Regions from separate parts of the Homo sapiens genome. Here all the other regions are linked to region 1. The links are contacts of gene promoters, found by promoter capture Hi-C in blood cells and fetal thymus (Javierre and others, 2016). All regions are on one chromosome and are shown on one strand. The core of a region is centred on a gene start or on the middle of the fragment in contact, and the rest is flanking DNA. Distances in the headings are between cores, read along the strand shown. Region 1 holds the start of LINC02724 (long intergenic non-protein coding RNA 2724). Region 2 overlaps NRXN2 (neurexin 2). Region 3 overlaps NRXN2 (neurexin 2). Region 4 overlaps NRXN2 (neurexin 2).

Region 1 (2,600 bases), core at 70-2,569:
CACCAGATGTTATTTCGTCTATGTAAGTGTGTATTTGTACCCACTCATCAACCTTTCTTCATCCCCTCCTTTCCCCCTCCCCTTCCTGGCCTCTAGTAAGCAGGTTGCTGTTGCAAATTACGTATTGAAGAAACTGGCGCTTTGTCCTATGGTTGCCTGCAGTCTGGATTTTGCTGGTCACGTCCCCTTAGCTTTGTTGAGCAGGCTCCCCAGTCCCTGTATTTCTTGTAATTTGATAGTTGGCAAACTTTTTCCATAAAGAGCCAGCGAGTAAATATTTTGGGCTTTGTGGGCTATAACAGTCTCTGTGGCAATTCCTCAACTCTGCTGTCACAGCGAGGCCGCAGCCAGAGACAACATGTAAACAGCGGAGCAGGGCTCCGTTCCCACAGCGCGGGATCTGGGTCCCAGTTTGCACAGCCCTGAGTCGAGGGTGGATCCAATCCAGGTCTGATACAGCATTTCAATGGTGATGCCGCAGCCTTCCACACTGAGGCACTTAACACCCCATTGTTCCCAATTGCATTTTAACTGAAAAAATACAAAAAGAGATCAAAACTGAAAGTGCAGTTTCCTCATGGTCCCACCACATTTTGGAGAAGTGTATAAATGGAGAAGTGAAAGCTCCATCTTCTGCCCCTTCCCCATGAGAGAGCCTCTATTCACAGCCAGGTCAGTTTCTTCCAGACTGTTAACATCCGTGTGAGTGCACATGTCTACACTGCGTGGAGCCTGCCTGCTTCCTGCCCCGCAGGCGTGTCTGCTGTGGGAAGGCTGGAGTTCTGACCTTCCCCCTCCCCCTCTGGGTGACAGGTGGCTCAGTTCTCTTCCCTGCCACGTTCAAGACCAGGTTGGGGGAGGGGGTGAATGTCACTATTCCCCTGACTGCCACTGTGGAGAGGGGAGACCCTCGCCCCTTTTCTGAATTTTTCCTTACCCCTTTCCTTGGAATAAAGCAAACACCAGACCCAAATGGATTTTAAGTGACACTTTCCCAAGAGTCTGGAGAGGGGACAGAGACTGGACGTGGTGTGTCCTGCCTGAGCCGAGTCATCTGGTTACGAGGGCAGGGGCAGGCTGGGGTGGGGCTCATGCGCCCCGGAAGCACCCTGGCTCCTCGCTCTCCCATGCCTCTCCCTTTATGTCCTCTGCTGTCCAGCGCCTGGGCCCCGGCCCTCCCTGGGACACCATCCTGCCCTGCCCGAGTCGTGGCTCTCCAGTCTCTTTCGGGGACTCGCCCCTGGCACCCACTAGATGGCGCTCCCGGCCACTCAGCTCCCCCTGCCTCGCTTGGGGTGGTGCTGGACGTCGGGAGCGCTGGCCTCTGCTCTGCTGATTTGCAGGTGGGAGTGCAGGGTGAGCCCGGCGCAGGGGATAGGAGGTGGGGGAGTCGAGAGCTGGAGTCAGGCGCCGCTCACGCTGGGATGACGGAGTGTTAACCTCAGACTCTGGGTCCCTTTGGGCCGAAGCTTTAAGAAAACAGGGGCAGCGAGCCCGGCGTCCCAAGGAGCCTTGCCAAACTGGGCATGGAGAACGGGCCTCCTGGATGGCCACCCGCCCAGCTGCCAAAGAGGCCGGAGAGCTGGAGCCGGGACTTGGAGGATCTTCTTCAGAGAGGCAGGAGGGCGGTCCGAACGTGCCCCCACCCCTGACCTCAAGCCCATGTGGAGAGGGCCAACAGAGCCTCTTGGAGAGCTGGATTTGCGTCCTCTGCAGCTTGGGGGACACGTCGTTGATGGTGACTGACACGCCCCAGAGATAGTGACATGATGATTAAGAGTGACAGCCTGAGGGAGCTGAGCGCAGCATGGCTGGTCTGGCAGCTGCTGTCGGTGTCGCGACCCCACCCCACTTCCCCGGCTCCCTGCCTCCTTCGCTGGAGAAGCATCCTCAGCCAATGGAGCCACAATACCTGGTACGTTCAGGCGACGCCCACAGCCCACGGCTAACTGTACAAAAGACTGTTCCCTCGCCTGCCTCTAGATGGCGATACCTCTGCCCCAGGGCCCCCTGCATATCTGCCAGAGCTGTATTTACCCTGGGACCACGCCTTTACCGAGTCCTTTCTCCTTCCCCGCCCCTCTGCCCTCACATCCTGGGCGGCTTGTCCCAGGATGAGCCCTCCCCTAGTAAATCCCTGTCTTGGGCTCTGTTTTCAGACAGCTGAAGGCAGGGAACAGCAGGAGGGGCCCCAGGAAGCTGGCCCCAAGGACGGGATGCTGCAGGAGGATGCCCCGCTGGCCCCTGGTGACTGGAGCCCGTTGCGGAGGCCCCTGGCACGAGGTGGCAGAGCAGCTGCTCAGGCCTCCGCCTGTGGTCACCTGGGACAGGACTCAGGTGGACGGGGATGCCCGGCTCGTTTAATATCACTGATGTTGAGAGACAGATGGGAAAATAGCCGTGAGAAGGACGTGGAGTGGGGAGGCTGTCACTGAATACTACTGACACTTAGAAGAGGGAAAATGACAAGTTCAGGGCCACGCATCACCAATTTAAAGCAAAGTCAGGATTCCTTGGCAGAATTTAACGAAATGCTTCTCTTCTATAGCCAGGGGTCAGAGGGCAGAAGACAAGGTGCAGGACTCCAGAGAAGGCCAAAT
Region 2 (2,600 bases), core at 57-2,556, 250 kb after region 1:
ACAGTCAGCCAGTACCCATCACACCCAACCCTCAAGTAACATTTCAGGAAACCGAGGCCCAGGACAGGGAAGTAACCACTCAAGGTCACACAGAGAATCTGAGGCAGGGCCAGGAGTGGCAGTCAGGCTTCTCAACTTCCCCAGAGAGGCTCCTACCCTGCATTCCATTGCATCTCACAGACAGATGGGGACACACTCACACCACTAATTGTCTCACAGGGTTCACTAGAGACACACTCATGCTCAGTGACACACTGACACACATAGGCACTTAGCAATCCAGTGACACACACTGTCTCACACAATTCACATATAAAGCCCCTGCACACAGGACCCAACCACCTACGGCCCCTGACCCTCCCAGGGGTGAAAAGACATCAAGACACAGAGAGAACAAACATGATTCTGCCACACAGCACTGTGTGACTTTCATCCTATTCACTTAACCTCTCTGAGTCCCTACTGCCTCTTCTGCAAAATGAGAGGGGTGGACTGGATAGTTTCTGAGGCCTCTTCTGACTCTGATTCTGATTCTAGGACAAATGTCTTCTTAACATCTGGATGAGGCCAAGGGCCCCCAGGCTGGATGGCCATGCCAGTGGGGGAAGAGAGTCCAAATTCAGTGGGCCACACTGGGCCCAGACCTAGACCATGCCACATCCTTTGGATAGGCAGACCTCACCTATTAGGGCCCTGCCTGGATCTGGCCTTGGAGCTCACCAAATGGGTCAAGGGAGAAGATGGAACAACGAGAAGATGGAGACAATTCCTTCAACTAAGCTACAACTCCTCAAGCAGGTTGGGCTCTGATCTTCTTTGTAAGAGGATGGAGGTGCCCCCAGCTCCAAACATTTGCCATGTGCCCACCTCCTGGGAGCCTTTAGATGAAGCAATAGGCAGGAGGGGGAAAACAGCACAATCTACAAACACACAAACCCAGTGGGGAAACACATACTTGCATATGCAGGCCCCAGGATACACACTTATGTACACACAGCTATCCAGTTCACACTCACGCATGCACACATTATCTCCTCCTACCTCCAACCCCATTTGGTGATATCTGTTCATTCGCTCATAGAGAGGTAGCTATACTCTGAAAACAAACATAGTCATTTGTCATACCTTATACCACTCCCATAATCCACGCACATACACAGGCTGAATGCAAGCACCAATACCTACACAGTAATCTACTACATAACACTAGACACACACACCACCACCCCACAGTGACTCCAGTGGCTAAAGCCATACAGCCAGCGATGAACACAGCTCTTTATCTCCCATTTCCTAAACCTACATACACAGTCTTTCCATGTCAACATGTGTTACAAACACACTCCTCTACAACACAGAGCTGCTTCTACCTGACAGCTGCATCACCTAAAAGATACATGTCTAATAGTTTTCTTTTTTTTTTTTTTTTTTTTTTGAGATGGAGTCTTGCTCTTGTTGCCCAGGCTGGAGTGAAATGGTGCGATCTCAGCTCACCGCAACCTCCACCTCCCGGGTTCAAGTGATTCTCCTGCCTCAGCCTCCGGCATGCGCTACCACACCCGGCTACTTTTTGTATTTTCAGTAGAGATGGGGTTTCTCCATGTTAGTCAGGCTAGTCTCGAACTCCCAACCTCAGGTGATCTGCCCGCCTCGGCCTCCCAAAGTGCTGGGATTACAGGCATGAGCCACAGTGCCCAGCAATAGTTTTCTTAAGTAAACTGAATCACATTTCATTTATGGGGGGAGCTGGCTAATAAAGGGGCCCTCAGGAAACCCTTTGGCTCTCGTGAAGACTGCTGTGCCAGGATTTCTTTGGTCCCAGTATGCTAAGACCCTGGTCAGTCAGCACAATTGTCTCACCAGCACCTGTGCAAATAAGGAGGCATGGTGATTTCTAGATAATCCAACATGGTAGGTATTTCAAAAAGTATTTCCACCTGCCAGAAATGTACGTCATGCTATGCTCAGGAAGGTGAAACAACCAGGCTTGGTTTGTTTCTGGCTTTTGAGAGACAGCACCTAGAAACTCACATATCTCTCTTCCTCTGCTGCTCTTTGCTTTCTGCTGATTCACCTATGCCCCTCACCTGCCACCTCAGTCCCCTTCAGGGTTGGCCCCTGCCCTCCACATTCCTCTTACTTCTCCTCGCTCTCCTCAGTGATGGCTCATTTTCGTGCTCAGAGACTCCCAAACCATGGGTAGTCCCGGCCTCCTCCCTGAGTACCAGTCCTGTATCACCATGTGTCCACCCAGCAGTGCAATTGCTCGTCCAACTCTCTGACATCTAAACTCCACCACTGAAGCCATTCTCGACACCTCCACTCCTACAACCAAGTGCTTATTCCCCTGTGCTTAGCAAAGCCCCTGCTTTCAACCAGTGCTGCCTGAGCTCCCACTACATGCCCCACACTGCCCTCATAGGTTCCAGAGATTCCATTAGTTAGCCATGTGCTGGGCACCGTACTGACCCTCACATGCAATATCACACATCAGCCTCACTGCAACACAGAGCTCGGTGTTATCTATCGACTCTGTACAGAGAAGAAAACACACCCAGGAGCACAGAATCACTTTTGCCCTTCTCCACTGCAATCCTAGG
Region 3 (2,600 bases), core at 29-2,528, 220 kb after region 1:
GGGAGTAGAGGGAGATAGTGGGGACGGGTTCTGGGTGGAAAGGAAGCCAAGGGTAGAGGGAATGGAGGAAGGTCTCTGGGGAAGGCAAGGAGGGAGATGACTTAGATTAGTAAAACCCGACTGTTCCCTCAGACGAATCAAAGTCCAGACACAAAAATGGCAGGTTCGTTAGTAAAAGCAGGAAACAGGGGAATAATTCCCCCGGTCCCCCTCCACCCCAGGGGTTCATGATGCCCCTGCCCCCCAACCTCCCCCCCACGCATCTTCTGGAAGGGGTGGGGCCGGTGGGGGAGGAGGGAAGGGAGGGGGCCGTGCGACACAGAACAGCCACTGCAGCTGGACACATGCAGGTTAGAGGAGCAGAGTGAGGGCTAGACCCAGCAGGACAGGCCAGAGAAAGGCAGCCAGGTAAGAAGGCGTGCGGGGCAGGGGCACTGGGAGGAGCAGAGATGGAGGCAACAGAGCTGTGGGGTGCAGGTAGGGAGAGCTTCCTTCCGATGATGGGGGGAAAGAGAGAGGAGTGACCACTAGGACAGAGACACTTATGGGTTGAAAAATAAAGAGAAAAGACATTTGACTCTACCTTCCTCAACAGCAGGCGACCCAACACTCATTCCACCACCCATTCGCCACCGATCACCAACCCCGAGACACACCTGCGTACATACCACATCCTACCCAGGGCAGTGGGACCTTCCAGCTCTCTCCTTCCAAACAGCATCACTGAGACACAGCAGAGTGTCTGCACCCAACCCATGCCAACCCACTCAACACAGACAAGCAGGCCGAGTGGGTACTGAGCTGGCCAAGGGGAATGAGCCAGAGCTTCTGCCCTGGAAGAGTTGTGTCCAGCCAGAGAAGGGAGAGGGTGCAGAGGCAGCAGGAGCCCACTGCCCAGCCCCCACTGTACTCCCCAGGAGCAGAGAGGCTGGCTGGAGGTGGACACAAGGGGCAGCCTGTGACTTGGGTGGGCTCTCAGCCCTCCCTGCTGACCCCACCTCTCTTTCTGCTCCATGCACCTCCCCTGTGGCAGGCTGTGCAGGATATGAAACTAAGTCCTGGCCATAAATAACTCCACATTGGTGGGCACTCCATGTCCACATGCCTTAGGAAGAAAGGCTGAGGAAGAGGGGAAGTATCCTTCTGCCATCTTCTGGAGCCTTTATCAGTTGCCTGTGATGATCACAGGGTCACTAACCTCCTTGGGAGGGGGACTTAATCTGGGGAGAACAAGACGGAGGGCGGGTATTTTTAACTTGTGGGCAAGCTGGCTGAGCTTGGGAGATTCCAAGCCCCTTGATATTGTGTGCAAAACTGCCTCCGTGGGTTTTTTTCCTGTGAGAGTCCATTGCTGTCATCAAATTCTCAAAGGTATCCATGAGCCAAAGGTGGTTAAGAGCAACTAGTCTAGGGGAAAGGTCCTGGCATCCCCTTAGGATTGAGTGGGTGGAAATAAGGGACAAAGACAAAGAGGAAGAAAGGGTCTCCAGGCTGAGTAAGGTACTGCAAGTCCTGCTAAGGGTTTGGGTTAGCTACCTGTTCAATGAGAGGGCAGAAGCTAACCAGAGACTCGGGTTGGAAAGACACACCATGAAGATGGACTGAACCAGCAGGCACAGCCCTGTCATGAATCCTGAGGTCTGGATTTGATAGTTTGGGAATAGAGAGGAAAGAGGTCAGAAATCCTGGGCTCTCATTCAGCCTTTATCCTTTTCCAGAACAATCCCATTTTACCTCTGACTCTCATCTGTGACAGGAGTTTAACAACTGTCGCTCCCATTTCTTCCAGGCTTACTCTGAGCACCAAATGAGAAAACTGAAGTGAAACTCCTCGATATCTGGCTATCTGACCCTAGGCAAGGTGCTTTCTCTGGGCTTCAGCTTTCCCCATCTGTTAACTGGAAACAATCTCTGCCTGCTACTTGCAGTCCAGGCATTCAAGTTTAAATGATATTCAAAAGGGGAAAGCTATTCAAAGAGTCCCAGTGTGTGTACAAAGAACTATCATTATTTGTACAAGCAAACTCCATCAGCCTGATCACACCTAATCCGAACTTCTCAACCTTCTCAAGGTTGGCCTTTTTGCTTTATATCCACCCTCTCCCCCAAGAAGAAGTGCTCAAACAACATGAAAATAGTCCATATAAATGAGTTAGTAAAAATAAATTGGAAACTAACCAAAACCTGTCTGGGGGATGCCTTGGGAATCAGAACACATTGAACCCTGTTACAAGGCCTCTGACTCTGGTCTTGGCTGAAAGAGCTGATTCCTAGTACAGATTTATGAAGGTCTATGAGGCCACCAAAAGGCAACCAGGTCTGTTTATCAGTCAGTATTGCTCATGCAGGAAAGTGCAGACTTTAGAGACTCAGAATTTAGCAGATACTTTCCTTTCCAGGACTGAAACAAGACAGTATTGTTTACTTTTTTTTGTTTTGTTTGTGTGTGTGTGTGTTTGTTTTAGAGATAGGGTGTTTGTTTGTTTGTTTGTTTTAGAGATGGTGCCTTGCTGGGGCACGATGGCTCATGCCTGTAATCCTAACACTTTGGGAAGCCAAGGTGGGTGGAATGCCTGAGCTCAGCAGTTCGAGACCAGCCT
Region 4 (2,600 bases), core at 40-2,539, 180 kb after region 1:
CCCTGGAGACTGGGAAAGGGAATGTGTGTGAATGTGTGTGTGTGCACAGACGCCTATGTGGAAAGAGGTTTGTCAGTGCACCTGAGAGGATCTGTACACCTCTGTGAGCTGTGGGTGATCCTGGTCTGCAGCAGTGGAAAGAGAACTGATTTCCTTTGAGAATCTGGCCACTCCTCCCATTTAAGCCACTGACATACTATTCAGTGCACGCTGGTGGGGCCAGGAGGCTTTTCCTCTCATCTCTCACTGCACAGCTGTGCTCACCTGCCCAGAGACCCGGGCCTGGGCCTGCCTATGTACACCTCCCATGAAGGTACACACGATGTGTTCATGTGGGTATGGATGGTGCCTCCTTGGGTGCTTATGAGGCAAGGAGATTCTGCTTTCCCTATAGATTCAGGATATTTGTGTTTAAATTAAAAACAGATCATTCAATCCTGTGTGTGTGTCTCCAAGAGGAAGAGAAAAATGTACATCTGCCTGGAGGGAGGCTGAGTATACAAAAATTCTAATAAAAGTCCTATTTATTGAGCACCTTTGCTATGCCATGCCATTCTAGTGTTTAATGACATTCTCACAGTATTGCTATGAGGTAGGTATCATCACCTTTCCGAAGTGGAAACTGAGATTCAGAGAGGCTAGATGACTTGTCCAAGGTTACACGCTTGTCAGTGGGAGATCCAGGATTAAAACCCAGGTTCTTCTGACTCAGAATCCATGGGCTGTGTCTCTGTGCTCCCAAAGAATCAGAGGGTCCCCCCCCACTCTGGGCCCATGCATACTGATGGTCTGACCTGCTGGTATTGCTCAGGATCTGCCCTCAGTATATACAGGCAACCACCAGACCCTCATGTTACTCCCCTTTACAGGCGGGGGCACCCAGCAGCCTTTCCTCACCCCTAGTCAGGGGTCCCTGAGGAGAGGAGAGCAGGAATAATTCTTCCACCCTGACTGCTGGCCTCCTGGGCCCCAAGGGGAGAAGCTCTAGATCCAAGTCCTGGCTTGACATGGTGAGGCCTTCATGCTTCCAAGCCCAGCCCTGTCCAGCACAGGCCAATGTCATCACTGCTACAAAGGTTGCCCTAGTATGTGTGCATCGGAGAATGAGAGAAGTCTGCTGCCCACAGGAATCATGCCTACACAGCCAGAGCTGTCAGTGTTGGCTTGTTGGGGGGCGTGGGGGATAGGTGGAATTTAGTGTAGGAGGGTTGGTGTGTGTTGAGTGTCCCTACATGTACCCAGGGACTTGATGTAGGCTGGCATCCCTCTGCAGAGCTGTTTTTTCATGTGTCTGTCTGACCATACAAATGTCTGCAGTTGTCCATATGTCTAAGGTTGACCTGTGTGTACATGAACCTCTGTATGTATTAGGGGGCCACGCAGGCCTCTTTATCTCCAGGGACTTTCCAGAAATGTCTGGGTACAAGCCTGCGTAATTGGTGTCATAAGCCTGTACTGGCATCTTTACTCCAGCATAGGTGAGCCCATGAAAGTTTACACATTGGCCTTTTGCCCCTGCCCCTCGCAGTCAGCATGGGGCAGCTTCTCTGCCTCAGCCTGGCTATCTCTCCGCCTGGGAGAGTGATGGAGGTCGCAGATGCTCACTCTGCTTCTCAGTCAGGCCCTGTGTGTGACTGCAATGTCGCTCAGACTGTATCTCACCATCTCTGTGTTTCTGCAGTTCTCCCTGCAGCGTTCCTGTTTCCCCTCCCTCTTTATCTCCCATGCTGGGGCTCTCCTCCGTTCCCTCCCAAGGCTCTGTCCACCTCTTCTCTCCCTGGGCCTGCATGTCAGCATCTCCATCTACCTCTCCACATCTCTCCTCATCTTTGCATATAGTTCAGTGCTATTTCCATATCTTTCCATTGCTTCCCCTCTGGTTTCCTCTCATTCTAAGGCTCTGTCTCTGCCTCCCTCAATATCTTTCAGAGTCTCTGCCTCCTCATTTCTTCCATGTCCTCATCTCCATCCCTCTCCTGTGCTCCTCAGACCTTGGTTTGTCCTTGGCCGCCACAGCTGTCACCCTGTTGAACTTGGTCTGTCTGCATTCTCAAGGCTCCCTGCAAGCAGGGACTGAGTGCCCCGGACCTAGCACAAGCCCTGATATCTAAGTAGGTTGTCAACAAAGGTTATTGAACGCACATGACCCTGTGTTTCATTTTTGTTGTCACTTGTCTCTTCCTCCCTTTCACCATGTCCCTCACCGCCTTGGACACTGGGGGTCCTTTTCTCTGAGTCTCCGTGGCTACTCCTCTTCCTTCGTTAGATCTCCTAATATGGATCTCTGACTTGCTCTTTATAAGGACCTCGGTTCTTTCCTTGGCTCTGCCCGTGGTAACAGCCCTGTCTCCTTGCCAAGACACGTTTTATATTACTTCTGGATTTTCTCTCCTGTTTCTGCATCTGTCTCCCTCATTTCTGAACTCAACCTTTCCGCAATCGCATCAGATTCTCCTCACCTCTACCCTCCCTCCACTTCTCCCCCCACCCCCAAACTGGACCCTGGCCTTGCAACCTTCCCAGCTCAGCCCTGCACCCTCCCCCATAGGGGGCGCATTCGCACCACCACGGTCTCGCCCCGCCGCCACAAATCCCGACTT

Evidence for each region. Contacts are between HindIII fragments. The CHiCAGO score rates a contact against its expected background, and 5 or more counts as called.
Region 2: a fragment that was not itself captured here is called in contact with the fragment with the promoter of LINC02724 in region 1 in 6 of 17 cell types (M0 macrophages, M1 macrophages, megakaryocytes and 3 more); the score reaches 8.3 in M0 macrophages.
Region 3: a contact is called between a fragment that was not itself captured here and the fragment with the promoter of LINC02724 in region 1, in 6 of 17 cell types (megakaryocytes, endothelial precursors, M2 macrophages and 3 more). The highest score is 13.5, in megakaryocytes.
Region 4: a fragment that was not itself captured here is called in contact with the fragment with the promoter of LINC02724 in region 1 in 3 of 17 cell types (megakaryocytes, M1 macrophages and endothelial precursors); the score reaches 5.4 in megakaryocytes.

The regions. Positions count from the first base shown.
Region 1 is chr11:64,447,738-64,450,337 of GRCh38, forward strand. LINC02724 (long intergenic non-protein coding RNA 2724) reads left to right here and starts at 1,320. Exons shown (of 2, transcript NR_073177.1): 1 at 1,320-1,915; 2 at 2,160-2,600. RefSeq lists an enhancer at 1,659-1,908, a cis regulatory region at 1,798-2,067 and a silencer at 1,845-2,040. The HindIII fragment of the contact is 9,068 bases long and covers 1-1,467 here.
Region 2 is chr11:64,698,013-64,700,612 of GRCh38, forward strand. All of the region lies in intron 2 of NRXN2 (neurexin 2), which reads right to left. Among named protein-coding and RNA genes, the nearest start is that of NRXN2, 24 kb to the right of the region's middle. The HindIII fragment of the contact is 3,809 bases long and covers 1-2,600 here.
Region 3 is chr11:64,671,248-64,673,847 of GRCh38, forward strand. All of the region lies in intron 7 of NRXN2 (neurexin 2), which reads right to left. Among named protein-coding and RNA genes, the nearest start is that of NRXN2-AS1, 29 kb to the left of the region's middle. The HindIII fragment of the contact is 4,540 bases long and covers 1-2,600 here.
Region 4 is chr11:64,627,621-64,630,220 of GRCh38, forward strand. All of the region lies in intron 19 of NRXN2 (neurexin 2), which reads right to left. Among named protein-coding and RNA genes, the nearest start is that of NRXN2-AS1, 15 kb to the right of the region's middle. The HindIII fragment of the contact is 2,694 bases long and covers 1-2,600 here.